3 separate regions of the Homo sapiens genome follow, and all the other regions are linked to region 2. The links are contacts of gene promoters, found by promoter capture Hi-C in blood cells and fetal thymus (Javierre and others, 2016). All regions are on one chromosome and are shown on one strand. The core of a region is centred on a gene start or on the middle of the fragment in contact, and the rest is flanking DNA. Distances in the headings are between cores, read along the strand shown.

Evidence for each region. The method cuts DNA at HindIII sites, captures the fragments that hold promoters and counts their contacts. A CHiCAGO score of 5 or more calls a contact.
Region 1: a contact is called between a fragment that was not itself captured here and the fragment with the promoter of AQP5 in region 2, in 1 of 17 cell types (neutrophils). The highest score is 7.6, in neutrophils.
Region 3: the fragment with the promoter of GPD1 here is called in contact with the fragment with the promoter of AQP5 in region 2 in 7 of 17 cell types (neutrophils, M1 macrophages, endothelial precursors and 4 more); the score reaches 8.5 in neutrophils.

What each region holds. Positions count from the first base shown.
Region 1 is chr12:50,161,102-50,164,405 of GRCh38, reverse strand. All of the region lies in intron 1 of CERS5 (ceramide synthase 5), which reads left to right. All of the region lies in intron 1 of LOC124902931 (a long non-coding RNA gene), which reads right to left. Among named protein-coding and RNA genes, the nearest start is that of CERS5, 4.6 kb to the left of the region's middle. The HindIII fragment of the contact is 8,796 bases long and covers 1-3,304 here.
Region 2 is chr12:49,960,475-49,963,775 of GRCh38, reverse strand. AQP5 (aquaporin 5) reads right to left here and starts at 1,904. Exons shown (of 4, transcript NM_001651.4): 1 at 1,396-1,904; 2 at 120-284. The coding sequence starts at 1,758. AQP5-AS1 (AQP5 and AQP2 antisense RNA 2) reads left to right here and starts at 993. Exons shown (of 3, transcript NR_110591.1): 1 at 993-1,109. The HindIII fragment of the contact is 7,065 bases long and covers 1-3,301 here.
Region 3 is chr12:50,102,694-50,105,815 of GRCh38, reverse strand. GPD1 (glycerol-3-phosphate dehydrogenase 1) reads right to left here and starts at 1,808. Exons shown (of 8, transcript NM_005276.4): 1 at 1,725-1,808; 2 at 1,065-1,242; 3 at 128-268. The coding sequence starts at 1,765. RefSeq lists an enhancer at 2,749-2,798. The HindIII fragment of the contact is 4,893 bases long and covers 1-2,030 here.

The sequences.
Region 1 (3,304 bases), core at 288-2,787, 200 kb before region 2:
AGGCTGGACTGCAGTGGCACGAAGCTCACTCCAGCCTCGACCTCTTTGGCTCAAGCAATCCTCCTACCTCAGCCTCCCAAGTAGCCAGGACCATAGGTGCACACCACTATGCCCAGCTAATTAAAAAAAAAAAAAAAAATTGGGAGAGCGGGGCATGGTGGCTCACACCTGTAATCCCAGCACTTTGGGAGGCCGAGGCAGGGAGATCACTTGAGGCCAGGAGTTCGAGACCAGCCTGGCCAACATGGTGAAACCCCATCTCTACTAAAAATATAAAAATTAGCTGGGCATAGTGGTACATGCCTGTAATCCCAGCTACTCAGGAGGCTGAGGCATGAGAATTGCTTGAGTTGGAGAGGCAGAGGTTGCAGTGAGCCAAGATCACACTGTTGCACTCCAGCCTGGGCTGCAGAGGAAAACTCTGTCTCAAAAAAAAAAAAAAAAATTGTAGAGGCTGGGCATGGTGGCTCATGCCTGTAATCCCAGCACTTTGGGAGGCCGAGGAGGGCAGATCACTTGAGCCTAGGAGTTTGAGACCAGCCTTGGCAACATGGTGAAACCTTGTCTCTACAAAAAAATTTAAAAATTAGCTGGGTGTGATGGTGCATGCCTATAGTCTCTAGTCTCATCTACTTGGGAGGCTGAGGCAGGAGGATTGCTTGAACCCGGGAGGTTGAGACTGCAGTGAGCCGTGATCAAACCACTGTACTTCAGCCTGGGTGATAGAGTGAGACCCTGTCTCAGAAAAATAAATAAAATAAATTTTTGTAGAGGCCTGAGCTCCTGGCCTCAAGCGATCCTGCTGCCTCAGCTTCCCAAAGTTTTGGGATTACTGGCATGAGCCACTGCCCCTGGCCTAGAGCCACTTGTAGAATGCAATAGAAGGCATATCAAAAATATCGGGGCATGGCCTTGCATGCTGGCTCACACCTGTAATCCCAGCACTTTGGGAGGCCGAGGCAGGCAGATCACTTGAGGTCAGGAGTTTGAGACCAGCCTGGCTAACAACATGAAATCTCATCTCTACTAAAAATACAAAAATAGCCCCGCGTAGTGGCGGGCGCCTGTAATCCCAGCTACTTGGGAGGCTGAGGCAGGAGAATGGCTTGAACCTGGAAGGTGGAGGTTGCAGTGAGCTGAGATCGTGCCACTGGACTCCAGCCTGGGCAACAGAGCGACACTCCATCTCAAAAATAAATAAATATTGGGGCCTGGCATGGTGGCTCACACCTGTAATCCCAACACTTTGGAGGCCAAGGTGAGAGAATTGCTTGAGACCAGGACTTTGAGATCAGCCTGGGCAGCATAGCGAGACCCTGATCCTACAAAAAATAAAAATGTTAGCCAGATGTGGTGGCATGCATCTGTAGTCCCAGCTACTCAGGAGGCTGATGCAGGAAGATGGCTTGAGCCCAGGAGTTCAAAGCTGCAATGAACTATGATAGCGCCAGTGCACTCCAGCCTGGGCAAAGGAGTGAGACCCTGTCTCTTAAAGAAAGAGAGGCCAGGCACAGTGGCTCATGCCTGTAATCCCAGCACTTTGGGAGGCTGAGACGGGCGGATCACCTGAGGTCAGGAGTTCGAGACCAACCTGGCTAACATGGTGAAACCCCATCTCTACTAAAAATACAAAAATTAGCTGGGCGTGATGGCATGTGCCTATAATCCCAGCTACTTGGGAGGCTGAGGCAGGAGAATCTCTTGAACCCGGGAGGTGGAGGTTGCAGTGAGCCAAGATCACACCACTGCACTCCAGCTTAGGCAATAGAGCAAGACTCTATCACAAAAAAAAAAAAGAGAGAGAGAGAGATAAAGAGGTATATTGGGACAATTAGTCATCTTTCCTACATTTTCTCTTTTTTTCAGAGCCCAGAATCCTTGCATACATTTTCTCATTCTAAAATCCTACCTATTTAGTTTGTAGAAATGATTTATGTAGTAATCATAGACTGCTAAAAGCTAGAACTCCGGCCTCCTTTTACAGACAGTTACTAAGGCTTAGAAACATCCTTCAGCTTTTCAGAGGTTGCAACATACAACTGGTCTTTTTCCCCAGCCCAGTTCTCTTTCACTGATAGGGCCGTTCATCTTTTCCTATTCCTTAAACCCCCTTTCAAGTGTTAAGATTTAACCTCTTGTTCTAGTATTCTAGTATTTGAAGAACAAATTTATTTCCTGTTACACACTTCATATACATTTAAAAAAAAAAAAAAAAAAAAAAGAACAAATCAGCCAGGCATGGTGGCTCATGCCTGTAATCCCAGCACTTTGGGAGGCCAAGGCAGGTGGATTAACTGAGGTCAGGAGTTCGAGACCGGCCTCGCCAACATGGTGAAACCCTGTCTTTACTAAAAATACAAGAAATTAGCTGGGTGTGGTGGCATGCGCCTTAAGTCCCAGCTACTTGGGAGGCTGAGGCAGGAGAATCGCTTGAACCTAGGAGGCAGAGGTTGCGGTGAGCTGAGATCATGCCACTGCACTCCAGCTTGGGCAACAGAGTGAGACTCTGTCTCAAAAAAAAAAAAAAAAAAAAAAAGAAGAAGAACAAATCTGTATTCATCCTGTTCTTAGTTATTTAACATTATCCTTTTAACTTGAACTTTGCTTTTTTTTTTTTTTTTCTTTTTTTGAGACGGAGTCTCACTCTCTCACCCAGGCTGGAATGCAGTGACTTGATCTCAGCTCATTGCAGCCTCTGCTTCCCAGGTTCAAGCAGTTCTCATGCCTCAGCCTCTTGAGTAGCTAGCAGTACAGGCATACACTACCACAGCCAGCTAATTTTCATATTTTTAGTAGAGACAGGGTTTTGCCATGTTGGCCAGGCCGGTCTTGAACTCCCGGCCTCAAGTGATCCACCTGCCTCGGCCTCCCAAAGTGCTAGGATTACAGGCGTGAGCCACCGCATCTGGCCAACTTTGCTTTGTTTGTTTCATATCATTATTGCATATTTAAATGCATCTTACTCTATGTGCCTAGATACATAGTCTCTATTTGTGTTTCAGGAATCTCCCAAAGAATAAATATAGAGGGTACAATTTGGTCTTACTTTCTCTTCCTTCTCATCAACCACACTGAGCATTTATTAAATATTTTTTAAGTTTCCATATTCCCTATAGAGAACTGTAGCCTCACCTGATGGGGATGACTTGGAAAGCCATCTGACCATAAGTTAAGCATATTTAGCTATTTTGTTAAAGAACTGCAGAAAGGTGATTATTACCCACCAAAGCACAGAGGCTTGCCTTTGTGGGCCTCTGTTGACTGGTTCATTGCAGTGGACTGTACTCTTGCACAGTGCCTCAGT
Region 2 (3,301 bases), core at 655-3,154:
ATCCAGGCCTTAAACTCTGCTGGACTCATCCATCTGAAGTGGGCTCCGCTCCAGGGCTCCATTATTTGCCTTGAGTGCCTGCCCCACCCTCACCCCAGCCCAATGTCGGTACTGCTCACTCCGACAAGGTGGCCCAGGGTGACAGACAGGCCAATGGACAGGGCTGGGGAGCCCACAGGGCTGGTGCGGCGGGAGTCAGTGGAGGCGAAGATGCAGAGTGCCAGCTGGAAGGTCAGAATCAGCTCCACCACCATGGCCTGGCCCTGCGTTGTGTTGTTGTTGAGCTGCAAGGGGATAGCGGGTTAGGACCCCGGCCACCTTCTGGCTGTATAGCCAGGGGCTCGGGGAGTAGGGCTTTTGGCCTCCAGGGACACTTAGAGCACCTTGGCACCTGGAAGCCAAGTCCTGTGGACATCGCCCCAGCGAAGCCATTTGTTAAAGACACTGTACATTTCATAGTTTGCACAGGCTTGAAGCTCAGGCCTGTGGCCAAAGGGCAGAGCGTCAGGGTAGCTTTTCCTGGACACGGGCCTATCAATGGCTCTGCCCAACCCCCAGCCCCCATAAGCTGGCATTTACCCTCCATCCTGTGGGCAGCTGCCCGGTTTGCCTGCCTCACACCCCATCCCGGCCTCCTGCCCGTGCCTGGCCCCATGCCAGTGCCAGCCTTAAACCCGTCTCTCCAGTGCGGCTGACTCACAGCTTGACAATGGCCAAGCAAATCCTCCTCTGTGTTTGATTAATGAACCCAGTTTGCATGGGGTTGGGGGCTGACTCTGGGGCTGCAGGAGGTGGGAGGGAGGCAGGGGTGCGGGGTTGAGGGGAGGAGCACAGGTTGGGGAAAGAGGGAACCAATACTCAACAGAAACTGCTCTGCACTGGCCCCACATTAGGGGGTTCCTATCTACGGTTTCTAAATGTGAGCCCCTTGACACCTGCTGTGGCAGACACAACCATCCCCATGGAGGCGCTGAGAACAATGAAGCACAGACAGGCCAGGGTCACCCAAAGCCGTGATGACAGCCCGCTTTTCTCTGGTGGTTCTACTCAACCGCTCCACTGAGGTGATGGGAGAGGTGAGGGGCCCAGGAGGAAGGTGGAGCTCAAAGGTGAGACAGGAGGAGGCAGAAGTTTCTGGCAGGAGAGGAGGGGTAGCAGGCATTGGAGAGAGACCAGGGTGGGCCAGCATGAGGGGAGGGGGAGAGGAGGTGGGCAGGAAGGGAGCACATATCAGCCTGGAGAGTTGCCTTCCTGGCCTTGGGAGGCTCTTGCCTTCCTGGTGAAGGGTGTGGGCTGGCCCACTCTGCGGCACCCCTTTTTTCCAGGTGGGGTAAGAGGCCTGGTCCTGAGCCCACCCCAGGGTCGAGGCTCCCACCCCCCCCCCAGGGCACTCACCGCGTTGACGGCCAGATTGCCCCGGGCATTGAGCGGTGCCACACCGTAGAGGATGCCAGCCCCGGCAATGGCGCCCACCAGCTGGGCCGCCACGTAGAAGAAAGCCCGGAGCAGCGAGATCTGGTTGCCCACCAAGAGGGCCAGGGTGATGGCGGGGTTGATGTGGCCGCCGCTCACGGGTCCCAGGGCCTGGGCCAGCGTGCCTATGGCCAGGCCAAACGCCAGCGCGATCTGCAGGATGGTAGGCAGCGCCGACGGCCACTTGAGGGCCGAGCCCAGGCCAAAGAAGACGAAGATGAGGGTGGCCAAGAACTCTGCGAACACGGCCTTGAGGAAGGCCACGGAGCACACCTCCTTCTTCATGGTGGCCGCGGGGGCCCGGCGGCAGCTGCCGCGGCGGGGGGCGCCCGTTGGGTCGCAGGCGGCGGAGGAGGTGGATGCGGCGGGGGCGGGGGCCTGGCTGCGGGGCGCCGCGCACTGTCCCGCGCCCACTCCGAGGCTGGCGGCCTGGCGCGGGCCCTGCTGGGGCGCGCTATATAGGGGGCGGGCGGCCGGGCGCGGGGCCGGCGCGGGGGGGCAGGGGGCGGCTCCTACGCTCGGGGGCCAGCGCGGCGCGCGGGTTGGGAGGCTCCAGGCCGCTGCGGGCCCGCCGCTCTCCGTCGTCCAGCGCAACCCCGGCGCGACCCCCGCCCCCCGGCCGGGGCAGCCGCCGGCCCGTCCGGGCCACGTGACCCAGGCGGCGGTGTAGACCGGCCCAGCGTCCCGGGCCCTGCGCATGATGCGCCCAGGTTGGCTCCCGCGCTCTCCTCGGTGCCGTGCGCCCCGGACTCCCTGGGAGACGGGGCTCGGTCCCGGCGCTTCACTCCGACCTCGGGGCGTCTAGCTCCGCCGGCCTTTACCGCGCTCCGTGCGCGGCCTTCCCCTTTTCTTCTCTTCGGGCTTTTGGTCCAGCTCCTCCTTTTCCTCCTGCGACCGGAGCATCCTGACCCGCCTCACCCCCGGCTGGGTCGGAGTGATGCTCGTCCCGCAGGTCGGCGCCGCTCACCTCCCTCACCGCCGGCGGCGGGGGCGGGCGGCCGGGCTGGGTCCTGCAGGGCGGTCCGGCCGTCCGACGTGGGCCGCTCCCGGCCTGGGCCGGGCGAGCTTCTGGGCTTGGAAGGCTGGCGTTTTGGGAAAAGTGGGCACCGTGCCAGCCTGCCCCGACGCTTCGCAATCCTCGACGCCCGGTAGCTGGGCAGTACCTGGACTAGGCAACGGATCCCCGGAGGCGCCCTCTCCCAGGCCGGGGTTCCCCTTGTCGACGGGACGGGACGGGGGTGTGACGTGAGGCCTTGAGACTCTGGGAGTTGGAGTGGGGGAGCAGGGGGGGTAGAGACGCACCACTGACCTCCCAAGCGCGGTCTTGGCGTCTTCCCTCTTCCTGCTAGAAGCCCCTCACCCTGGATCTAAGACTCTCCTTCTCTTCCTCCACCTCCCCTAAGTCTCCTTCAAACCCTCACTTGGTCTTGATCTCTCTCCCCTCGAAATCTGTTTCTGTCAGTCAGTCTTTGCAAAACCCTATTTCTCTTTTTGTCTCTGTCTTTGGTCTCTGACCCTCTCCCTCTGCCAGCCTCTTCCTCTCGGTCTCTCTCCGAGAGGTCTCTTTCTCATTTCAGTCTCTCTGTTCTCCACCTCTCCATCTCTCTCTCTCTCACACCTTCTCATTTTCTGTTTTTCCTTCCTGCCTTTTGCTGTCTTAGTCTCTCTGTCTCTCTCTATTCATTTCTCTCATCCTGCAGTTTCTGTCTCCTGGCTATTTTCACCTTTCCTCTGCCTCTTAATTTTTGTGCCTTTCTTTGTTTCTGTCTGTTTCTACCTCATTTTCCATGTCTCTCTCTCTTACATGTGGTCTTTCTCAGTCTCCCCA
Region 3 (3,122 bases), core at 559-3,058, 140 kb before region 2:
GCCTCTCTTTTCTCCAGCAAACTCTTGGCCTGCGTCTGCCATTTTCTGTTCTCCTTGCTTCACCCACCCTGAACCCCACAACAGTGAGCCGCACCCTCCCCCATCCACATGAAGGTGTCCCTGGCACCTTAATAAGAGATATGCCAGTGGCGTTTGCCTTCAGATGGCCCTTGAGCTGGTCACAGATCTTGCCGATGAACTGATGGGGCACCACAAAGATCAGGATGTCAGCATCCTCTGCAGCCTGGACCACATCTGGGACAGCCACCTGTGGGGGTGACCAAGTGCTCGCGGGCCTGGCAGACCTCCCCTAGCCCCTGTGGAACCCTATTCAGGAGATCTGGGAGCCAAAGAGTGAGGCTGGTAGGGGAGCAGGAAGGCTTGTTTGGGACTGAATCTAGAAGGACTGAACTTGGAGGAATAAGACACTCTACTCCCTCCCCCCAGCTACCACTCTGTCTCCCTCCAGCTGTCCTGGGCTCTTGAGGACTCCTGGAAACCTCATCCCAGCACTCTCCTATCCCTTGGCTGTGGGACAGTGCGGGAGGCCAAAAGCAGCCTGGGCTTGGCAAAAGAAAGAGCTCAAATAAGATTTCATCACCCAGCTCCTCAGGAACCCCAGCTGGGAAGGGGGAGCCCCAGCCTTTCTGCTCTCTTCCCTGCTTCCCCTTTCCAGGTGGGGAGAGCCACGTGGATTTGACCAAAGACCGTAAGTCCAAGGAGCAGCCTCCAAGTCGGCTACTCACTCAGTGAATGAGTAACAGGATTAGTGCCGGAGGCAGGCACTACTGGACCCCAAGTCTGGGAGCCCAGTCTTTGGCTGCCATGGAGACCAACTTGTTCTCCCATCCCTTCCCCACCCACCCGCCTGGGAGCCTGTGAGGGGAAAGCATAGGTTCTCCTCAGTCCTCAGGAAAGGGCCCAGAGCAGCCCTCCTGAGACCTTCCCAAGTCCTGCTGCACCTGAAGCGGCCCTCTCAGCAGGAGGCACCTGTTGAGTAAGGTCGGCTCCAACTCCTGGCCCTCCCTTCCTCTCCCTGTTCTTCGCAGGGTGTTGGGGCTCACCACATTTGGGGGCAACTTGTGCCCTGGCAGGTATTTGACATTCTCATGCTGCGTGTTGATGATCTCAGTCAGCTTTTTGCCTCCAATGTCTTCCTCAAATACCCACATGGTCACCCGTGGGTCAAACTGTGCCAGCTGGGCTGCATTGCCACCCACGATCTTGGCGATGGCTGAGCCCCTGGTGGGAGGGGGAGCACAGGAAAGTACAGGAGGAGGGAACAGTGGCAGGAGTTGGGGCAGCGCCCCACCTCAGGATCTCACAGCAGCCCCCCAGGCTGTTCACTCCTACCTACCTTCCTTATCACCTCCACTCCCATGACAAATAGTCCCCAGTGACCTGGCAGTAGAAAGGAGACTCAGTCTCCTCACCCTTTGCTACTAGAGAAGGGAGCCCCACTTCTCATCTTCCCACCCCCAAACTCAAGCGGCTCTTCACATAGAGAGCTCTGGAGACGCCTTCCCATGGTGAACAGGTGCAGCTGCCCAGGAGGGCGGGGGTCAGGAGAGGGCCGGGCACCGTCTGTCCTGTGCTGCTATGATAGAAGATAGCAGCAGGGGCTGAACAGGAACCTGAGGGCCTTTCCCACCCATTCTGCCTCCTACCCACCTCTGTCTTGGGGGGCCTACCCTTCCCCCATATCACTTGACAGAGCTGCTTACCAGTTCCCGGAGCCTACAATGCAGACTTTCTTGCTAGCCATGGTGCCGCGTCTCTGCCTGAGCCGGCTCAGTGCCACACTCCCTAGCTCCTCTGCCGGCTAGGAGCATTTAACTCCACCACACGTGGGTGCAGCCAAGCCCCGCCCTCCAGGGGTGGGTGGGGAGGCTGGCGCCCAGGGAGATAGAGAGTCTGGCAGAGCCAGGGAAAGGAGAGACAGGGGTACAGACAGGTGTGGAACAGGAATGGGGCAGAGACTAGGCCCAGCTTTTTCTCCTGGGCTCATCGGCTGACAGTGCTGGCAAGCTTCTTCCCTTGGCCCCAGCCCAGCTTCCCACCATGGTCTCATTTTGAGGTCTGCTAAGAAAATAGCCCAGATAAGGAGCAGGTGACTGCTCTCCCTTGCTCCTTTCTGTCCCCCAGCATGAAATAAATTGTATTTAGCTTCAGTAGCAGCTAGGGGAATGCTTTTCAGAGGTAGGCTCCTCCATGACCCCCTATCCCCCCGCCAACCCTGCCACATATCCTCACAGGACCCTGTTCCACAGTTCTGTCCTCCAGCAGGCCCACGCTAGCTCCACTGCAGGGCTGGGGTGGGGGATGTGGGCCCACTTCCCACCTCTAAAGATGAGGCCACATAAGAGGTAAGGGCCTGCTTTGAGGACAGCCCAGCTCAAAAAAGGATGAGAGACTCCAGGTGCCTCAAAAGACAAGATTGTCTTGGTCACCCACAGAGGTCATCTTGGGGACTCATCCATGGGCCTCTCAGATGATCCCCACCCAAAAATGTGTTCTAGGGAAGGTGGGAAAGGTTAAAGTTAGAGAGCTCTGAGAATTGCGGTACACAATTTTGTTGTAGACTCTGGGCTTAAGAGGACAGGAGAGAATAGGAGGCAGGCAGAGTGCACACTGTCCTTGAAAGGCTTTGAGCCTCCTTCAACTCCTCCTCTCAGGGGTTTCCAAGGTACTGCCCCAGGGGCTTCATCAGGTGAATGGCTAGTTTGCAGAGGCCAGAAAAGGGGAAGGCAGGCAGTACCCGGGGCAGCTGTGTCCGTGGGGCTTTGTGGTCTCAGATGCTGTGATTGGGGGTAAGTTTGGTGTATGTTTTTTGGGGAAGGGCGAGAATGGAAGGAGCACCCTCAGCAGTTCAGGGCTCTGCATCGCCCACGGCCATCTGTTTGTCTAAGACGAGGGAAGCTCTGGTTTCCAGGCTGATCTGGAGAGTGGAGCAAGAGGCTCCTAACACTGTGCACCTTGGCCTAGAGGGCAGACACCACTGTGTGCTCATGTGCTGACCTCCTGGCTTGGCAGACGGCTAGGTGGGTGTTGCCATCCCCCTGGGCTGTTGCTGGCCAGCAACTGGTAACAAGCACTGGGCTACAGGGGAGTCTGTGTGCAAC